Linked DNA regions of Homo sapiens: regions 1 and 3 are each linked to region 2. The links are contacts of gene promoters, found by promoter capture Hi-C in human tissues and cell types (Jung and others, 2019). All regions are on one chromosome and are shown on one strand. The core of a region is centred on a gene start or on the middle of the fragment in contact, and the rest is flanking DNA. Distances in the headings are between cores, read along the strand shown. Region 1 has its middle 44 kb from the start of ZNF708. Region 2 holds the start of ZNF708 (zinc finger protein 708). Region 3 overlaps ZNF738 (zinc finger protein 738).

The links. The method cuts DNA at HindIII sites, captures the fragments that hold promoters and counts their contacts. A contact is called where the count stands out against the background at its distance.
Region 1: a fragment that was not itself captured here is called in contact with the fragment with the promoter of ZNF708 in region 2 in 1 of the 25 tissues and cell types used here (aorta).
Region 3: a fragment that was not itself captured here is called in contact with the fragment with the promoter of ZNF708 in region 2 in 1 of the 25 tissues and cell types used here (H1 embryonic stem cells).

The regions. Positions count from the first base shown.
Region 1 is chr19:21,284,459-21,287,158 of GRCh38, reverse strand. It overlaps the pseudogene COX16P1. Among named protein-coding and RNA genes, the nearest start is that of ZNF708, 44 kb to the left of the region's middle. The HindIII fragment of the contact is 4,282 bases long and covers 1-2,700 here.
Region 2 is chr19:21,327,988-21,330,687 of GRCh38, reverse strand. ZNF708 (zinc finger protein 708) reads left to right here and starts at 1,278. Exons shown (of 4, transcript NM_021269.3): 1 at 1,278-1,478. The coding sequence starts at 1,476. RefSeq lists a silencer at 965-1,186 and enhancers at 433-1,421, 1,306-1,485, 1,526-1,725. The HindIII fragment of the contact is 12,621 bases long and covers 1-2,700 here.
Region 3 is chr19:21,376,055-21,378,754 of GRCh38, reverse strand. All of the region lies in intron 4 of ZNF738 (zinc finger protein 738), which reads right to left. Among named protein-coding and RNA genes, the nearest start is that of ZNF738, 18 kb to the right of the region's middle. The HindIII fragment of the contact is 5,127 bases long and covers 1-2,700 here.

The DNA.
Region 1 (2,700 bases), core at 21-2,520, 44 kb after region 2:
GGATCACCTGAGGTCAGGAGTTCGAGACCAGCTTGGCCAACATGGTGAAACCCAGTCTAACTAAAAATACAAAAATTAACTGGATATGGTGGCAGGTGCATGTAATCCCAGTTACTTGGGAGGCAGAGGGAGGTGAATCGCTTGAACCTGGGAGACAGAGGTTGCAGTGAGCTGTGATTGTGCCATTGCACTCCAGTCTGGGTGACAAGAGTGAGACTCCGTCAAAAAAAAAAAAGAAGAAAGAACAAGAAAGAAAGAAAAGGAAGGAAGGAGAGAGAGAAAGAAAGAAGAAAGAAAAGGAGAGAAGGAAAGGAAGAAAGGAGAGAGAAAGAAAGAGAAGCAAGAAAAGGAGAGAAGGAAAGGAAGAAAGGAAAAGGAAGAAAGAGGGCATCCCTGTCTTGTTCTAGGTCTTAGAGTAAGAGCTTACATTTCACTGTTTAATATGTTGTTAGCTGGACATTTTTTTCTATACATGGCATTTATTGGCTTGAGATGCATTTGTCCTATACTAATTATTTTTTAGAGATTATCATGAGGGAATGTTGAATTTTGTCAAACTTTTGTTTTTTTTTTTGGCTGGAGTTTCACTCTTGTCATCCAGGCTGGAGTGCACTGGCACGATCTCGGCTCACTGCAACCTCTGCCTCCCAGGTTCAAGCAATTCTCCTGCCTCAGCCTCCTGAGTAGCTGGGATTACAAGCGTGAGCCACCACGCCCAGTTAATTTTTGTATTTTTAGTAGAGACAGGGTTTCCCCACGTTGGCCAGGCTGGTCTCGAACTCCTGACCTCAGGTGACCCACCCGCCTCGACCTCCCAAAGTGCTGGGATTACAGGTGTGAGCCACTGCACCCAGCCAAATTTTGTCAAGCTTTTATTCTGCATCTATTTAAATGTTAGAGTTGTGATATCACAACTAATTTCACATAAATAGTAAACATCCTCAGAGACTACTATGCACATCTCTATGCATGCAAACTAAAAAATTTAGAGAAAATAGATAAACTCCTGGATACATCCAGCTTCTCAGCATTGAACCAGAAAGAAACAGAAGTCTTGAACAGAGCAACAATGTATAAAGTATATAATAAGATTGAATTACTAATAAAACAAGCTACCAACCATAGAAAGCCCTGGATAAGATGAGTTCACAGCCACATTTTATCACATATACAAAGATAACCTGGTATTAATTCTACTGAGTGTATTCCAAAAATCAAGGTGGAAGTCCTTCCTAAATTATTTGAAAACATTATTATCTTGGTAGTAAAACCTAGTGAAGACACAACAAAAAAGGAAAATTACCGGTCACTATTCTTGGTGAAAATTGAAACAAAAATTCATGAAGTACTAGCAAGTTGAGTTCATAAGCAAAGCAAAAAGTTATTTTGCCACAATCATGTAAACTTCATTGTATGAATGCAAAGATGTTTCATCATATACAAGTAAATAAATGTGATTCACCATGTAAAGATAATTTTTAAAAAACAATTATCACATGCAGAAAAGGCATTCAAGAAAATCTAATACTCATTTATAAAAACATTCTCAACAAACTAAGCACTGGAGAAATATGCCTGAAAATAATAAGAGCCATCCATGACAAATCCTCAGCCAACATCATACTGAGCGGGCAAAACCTGGATGAGGTCTCCATCAGAATAAAAATAAGGCTGGGTGCAGTTGCTCACGCCTGTAATCCCGGCTCTTTGGGAGGCTGAGGTGGGTGGATCACCTGAGGTCAGGAGTTCAAGACCAGCCTGGCCAACAGGGTGAAACTCTGTCTGTACTAAAAATACAAAAAATTAGCCTGTCGTGCTGGCAGGCATGTGTAATCCCAGCTACTCAGGAGGCTGAGGCAGGAGAATCACTTGAATGTGGGAGGCAGAGGTTGCAGTGAACTGAGATCATGCCATTGCAATCCAGCCTGGGCAACAAGAGTGAGACTCCATCTCAAAAAAAAAAAAAAAAAAAGACAAAGAGTATCCACTCTAAACACTTCTATTCAACATAGTCCTGAAAGTCGTAGCCACAGCAATTTAACAAGATAAAGCAATAAAATGTATTCAAATAGAAAAAGAGGAAGTCAAATTATCTTCACTGGTGATATAATTCTCTACCTGGGAAACTTCACCGAAAAAGATTTCACCAAAAGATTTCTAAGCCTAAAGAATGACTTCAGCAAAGTCTCACCATACTAAATCAACATACACAAATGAGTAGCATTTCTGTGCACCAATAATATTCAAGCTGAGAAAAAAAGAACATGGTTCTATTTACAATAGCTACAAACAAAAAAATATGTACCTAGTAATACATTAAATCAAGGAGGTAAAATATCTCTACAACAAGAACTACAAAACTGCTGAAAAAAAATAGAGACAACGCAAATAAGTAAAAAGGCACTCCATGCTCATGAATTTAAAGAATCAATATAATTAAAATGTCCGTGCTGCCTAAAGCAACTTACAGATTAAGTGCTACTTCTCTCAAACTATAAATGCAACTTTTTATGGAATTAGAAAAAGAAAACCATTCTAAAAGTCATATGGAAGAATAAAACAGCCCATTTAGCCAAAGCAACATTAACAACAAAGCAATCCTGGAGGCCTCACATTACCTGGCTTGTACTACAAAGCTACAGTAATCCATATTACATGGCTTGCTACAAAAATACACATGTAGACCAATAGAAAGAAGAG
Region 2 (2,700 bases), core at 29-2,528:
ACCTGTTCTTTGTTTCTTTTTAAAAATAGAGCTAAACTCTTTTTAAAGTTTGGCTACAAATTAGCCGGGCATGGTGGCCAGCGCCTTTTATCTCAGCTACTTGGGAGGCTGAGGCAGGAGAATCGCTTGAACCCGGGAGGCAGAGGTTGCAGTGAGCAGAAATCGCGCCATTGCACTCCAGCCCAGGCAACAATGTGAGACTCCGTCTAAAAAAATAAAAATATAAAATAAAGTTTGGCTACTAGAAAATTTAAAATTTACATGTGGCTCACATTTTATGATTTTATTTTATTTATTTATTTTTTTTGAGACAGAGTTTCACTCTTGTTGTCCATACTGGAGTGCAGTGGCGTGATCTCGTCTCACTGCAACCTCCACCGCCCAGGATCAAGCGATTCTCCTGCCCCAGCCTCCCAAGTAGCTGGGATTACAGGCGCCTGCCACCATGCCCAGCTAATTTTTTTGTATTGTTTTAGAGACGGGGTTTCACCATGTTGGCCAGACTGATCTCGAACTCTGAACCTCAGATGATCCACCCTCTTCGGCCTCCCGAAGTACTGGGATTACAGGCGTGAGGTACAGCGCCCAACTTGTGGCTCACATTTTATTTCAGAGAATTGCCTCCTTTTTAAAATCTCAGGCTGCCTGCTCAAAGGACCAGAAGTCAGGAAGGTCACAAAATATAAAATTTTAGAACAGTTGGGCCGGGCGCAGTGGCTCATGCCTGTAATCCCAGCATTTTGGGAGGCCGAGGCGGGAGGATCACCTGAGGTCTGGAGTTTGAGACCAGCCTGACCAACATGGAGAAACCCCGTCTCTACTAAAAATACAAAAAAATTAGCCGGGCATGGTGGCGCATGCCTGTAATCTCAGCTACGCGGGAGGCTGAGGCAGGAGAATCGCTTGAACCCGCGAGGTGGAGGTTGCGATGAGCCAAGATCGCGCCATTGCACTCCAGCCTGGGCAACAAGAGTGAAACTCAATCTCAAAAAAAAAATTTTTTTTAGAACAATTGGGTTATTATATTCTTTTCATTTGTGAATAGCCATATAGCATATTATTTATAAGGGCATATGACCTTATACACAAGATTAAAGGCAAACACCCTCTCGGGTGGGCCTGGCTCAGCTCAGGGAGGAAGCCTTGCCTGAAAAGGCTGCAGCATAGGCTGTCACACTTCATTCAGCCCAGCATCTGATCACATCTTCCGTCCCTCAGGGCCTGAAGGGGCGGGTTTTAACATTATCCAATCAGGGACTCTGAGCTGGGGACAGTTCACTCAGACACGCAGCTGGACCGGACAGGGCGGCTTCCGGGTTTGGCGCGGCCTTTGTCTCTTGCTGCAGCCGGAGCTCCGGTCTCGTCTTCACTGCTGTTTGTCCTCTGCTCCTAGAGGCCCAGACTCTGTGGCTCTGTGACCTGCAGGTATTGGGAGATCCACAGCTAAGACTCCAGGACCCTCTGGAAGCCTAGAAATGGTGAGAGTGCCGTCCGACATCCCGAGAGAGGGGAAGGGCTGGTTGAAACCTGTGGGAAGTGGCTGTGGCGGGACTCAGGACTCCCCGCAGTCATCTCCACAATCTGCGCTCCGAGTTCTCCTTGCCTAGCTCGGCCTCAGTCCCCTTCAGCCATAAGATGGCGGCTGCGCCGACAGCCGGGCCCCCGGGCGTCCTGTCTCTTCCCTGCGCAGTGACTGTGCCCTGGCCTGCAGCCCTCTCTGGGCGGCTCTGCACCGGCAGCGCCGCGCCTCTCCCAGATTGTGCAGGGACCATGGGAGGGTGGTCAGGGGAGAATCCTGACTTGGGGTCGGGTTCATGAATGGGAAGAGCTTTGGTCTGTGGGGTTCCCGGTTCCTATTTTCTCCTATTAAAAATCTGTGGCAGTCATCGCAAAAAATATTAAAGAATTTAATCAAAGAGTGATTCAATAATTGTAGAGCACAAAAGTATGTTTTGTAGTTTGTGGTTCATGGGAGGAGCTTGAAGGAAAGACTTTTTATAAGGTGCATGATGAAGAAAACTATATTTAATAATCGGTTAGGTACATTTACGTAGCTGTTGCTGTTAAGTAGAAAGCCGGGGACTAGAGCCTCCTCAGTGTAATTGCCTGCCACTTAATTATTCTCACACTCCACAGGGGACTGATTTTCCCCTGCATTTTTCACATGCGTTCCAAGCGGGGTCTCAAGTGTACCTCCCAGCCCCATTCCTCCAGCCTAACTCTGGCCTGCAGTTAGATTTAAACTGCAAATAAACTAAAATACTAAATTTCTAGTTCCTTCTGACATTTCCAAATGCCAGCTTGCCTTTCCTAATTCACATTCTCAACTGTTTTTCCTTTAGTGTACATTTTTGATACTGTATTTTAGTTAATCATTTTTTGACAAAGCATTGGATGGCACTTAAAATTGTTTTCTGGTTGAAAATATTTCTCATGAGAAGAAAGCAAAAAATAATTCCCTGACACTGTATTTTATGAAATTTCTATGGCTTTTTTTTTTTTATCTTCCTCAGGCACAGAAATCTTATCAGAATGTTTGTTTTCAGGTGAAGGTTTTTCTTTGGAAACTTTACGGAGTGATGTGTCTTCAGCCACCCTTCAGTTTTTTCCTGGTCCTGGGTTTCAGTACTGTCTGGAGTAAACCAAGATACACATCATGACTTTTTCTGCTAGAGTGTCTAGTGAATATCAGCTCCTGGG
Region 3 (2,700 bases), core at 15-2,514, 48 kb before region 2:
GGTGGCATATGCCCGTAATCCCAGCTACTCGGGAGGCTGAGGTAGGAGAACTGCTTGAACCTGGGACACAGCGAGGTGAAATCGCGCCATTTCACTCCGGCCTGGGGAACAACAGTGAAACTCCATCTCAAAAAAAAAAAAAAAAAAAGTGATATTATTTGCAAGAATACTCTTATGAGATAGCCAGTGGATTCTCAACAAAAATTTTTCAGGACAGAAGAAAACTGTGTGATATAGTGAAATCTGAAGAAAATAGTTATCAAGTGAGTATAATACCATCACCAAATCTGTCCTGCTAAATAAAAAGAAAACAAACTTCAAAAATAACCAAATTTTAAAAAGTATATTGGTACTTCCTTACATATAAAAGGTGCTGAAAACAGTTGCTTCCAATGAAAATAAGATGATTTAACAAAGCAACACAAAATCATATTAAAACACATTATTTTCTGGGAAAGATACGCACATACACAAAAATACATTTCTTAGCATTATCATAATGGCACAGAAGAAATTTTTAATTATTCCCCAAAATTTGAAAGATAAAGGCATAGAAATCATTATAAACATGTTAATAAATATACATATAAAAATATAATTAGCAACATCAAGAACAAATCTGAGAACATATGTAATGAGAAAAAATTTTTGCATGCAACAAAAGTTCATTTTTAACTAGACTGAAATACATTGTATCTCTTAAAGGTTTTATGTAATCCCCCACGTACCACAAAGAATATGCCTGTATAGACACAGAAAACAACATAAGAAAGAAGTAAAAGCATATCAAAGTAAAAATAAAACAGCCACAGAGAGAAACAAAGAGAGAAAATGTGGGACAAAGATGCAAGAATCAAATAGAACAACAAAAAAAATTAGTAAGTCTCTTTGTTTCAGAAAACTTTCCAATCAAGAGACATACTTTCAATAAAGAAATTTATTTAAAATTATTAAAAACCAAGATCCAATTTGCCTTTCTACAAGGGTCAGCTGACATCTAATGATTAAAAACATACTGAAGGTGGCAAGATAGATTTAGACATTGCATGCAAATATTAACCAAATGAGAGCAGAAGAGGTCAAAATAGTATTACAAAAGCCACATCTTAAGTCAAAAACTGTCATATCTTACATAAAGTACTTTAAGTCAAAACTGCAAAGAGACAAAGAAAGACATTAAACAATAATAGATTTATTAACTGGGAACCTATGACAAATTTTGTGTGTGTGTGTGTGTGTGTGCACGTCTGTGTGTCTGTGTGTATGTCACACTAAGGTTCCAAATATATAAAGCAAATATTGACAGACTGGAAGAAACACCTAGACAGCAATATAATTATAGTAGGAAATTTCAATACCCCACTTTCTGTAATAAAAATAAAACAAGACAGAATATTAGTAAGTGAAGAGAGGAACTGAAGGCAGTATAATACAATTTTTTTTTTTTTTAGATGGAGTTTGCTCTTGTTACCCAGGCTGGAGTGCAATGGCACGATCTCAGCTCACCACAACCTCCGCCTCCTGGGTTCAAGCGATTCTTCTGCCTCCGCCTCCTGAGTAGCTAGGACTACAGGCACGTGCTGCCATACCTGGCTAATTTTGTATTTTTAGTAGAGATGGGGTTTCTCCATGTTGGTCAGGCTGGTCTCAAACTCCCAAACTCAGATGATCCGCTCGCCTCGGCCTCCCAAAGTGTTGGGATTACAGGCATGAGCCACTGCGCCCAGCCTGTACAATTATTTTTAACAGAGAAATAGAGAAGAGTCCTCAAGAATATGAGGAAACACATCCTTCAAAATAGCTTATGCAACATTCTCTTTGATAGACCACCTGTTAGGCCAAAAACGGAGTCATAAAAATTTGTTAAATTTGACATTTTATGAATTACATCCTATGACCAAAATGGAATGAAAGTATAAAATAGAAAAAAAGGCTGGGTGTAGTGGCTCACGCCTGTAATCCCAACACTTTGGGAGGCCAAGGCAAGTATACTAAAAATCCAATTTTTTAATAAAACTTTTTATAAAAACATGAGTTTTTACTAAAAACTCTCATGGTGGTGCATGCCTGTAGTCTCAGCTACTCGGGAGGCTGACATAGGAGAATCGCTGGAGGCAGAGGTTACGATGAGCCAAGATGGCGCCTTTGCACTCCAACCTGGGCAACAAGAGTGAAACTCCATCTCAAAACAAAAAACAAAACAAAACAAAAAAACTACAATAAACTTTGAATAGCCAAAGCAATCTTGAGGAAAAAGAACAAAGCAGAGAGACATTATATTTTATAATTTCAGACTATATTTCAAGAATATACTAATAAAAAAAGATGGAATGTGCAGAAAATTAACATAAAAACCAATAGAACAGTGACCACTACTCTCACACATTTTAGACATGATGCAAAAGAGAACTAAAAAAATAGTTTAACATAAAGTTTCTCAAAATCATGCAGATATTTGTGTGTCCCCCAAAACAATGGAAATGCAGTCAGATTGTGCAGTCTTTTATATGCCATGAAGAGGACTCTGGCTCTCACTGTGAACTTGAAGGAAAATCAATGAAGGGAAAGTAGAATCCTTAGAGAATTTAAAAGCCTAAGACAGAAGATGGCCCTATGTGACAGTAACAACAACAAAAAGAAAACAAACAAAAAAACCACACACCTCAGGCTTCCCAGAATCTATTTGCTTTGGAACACAGC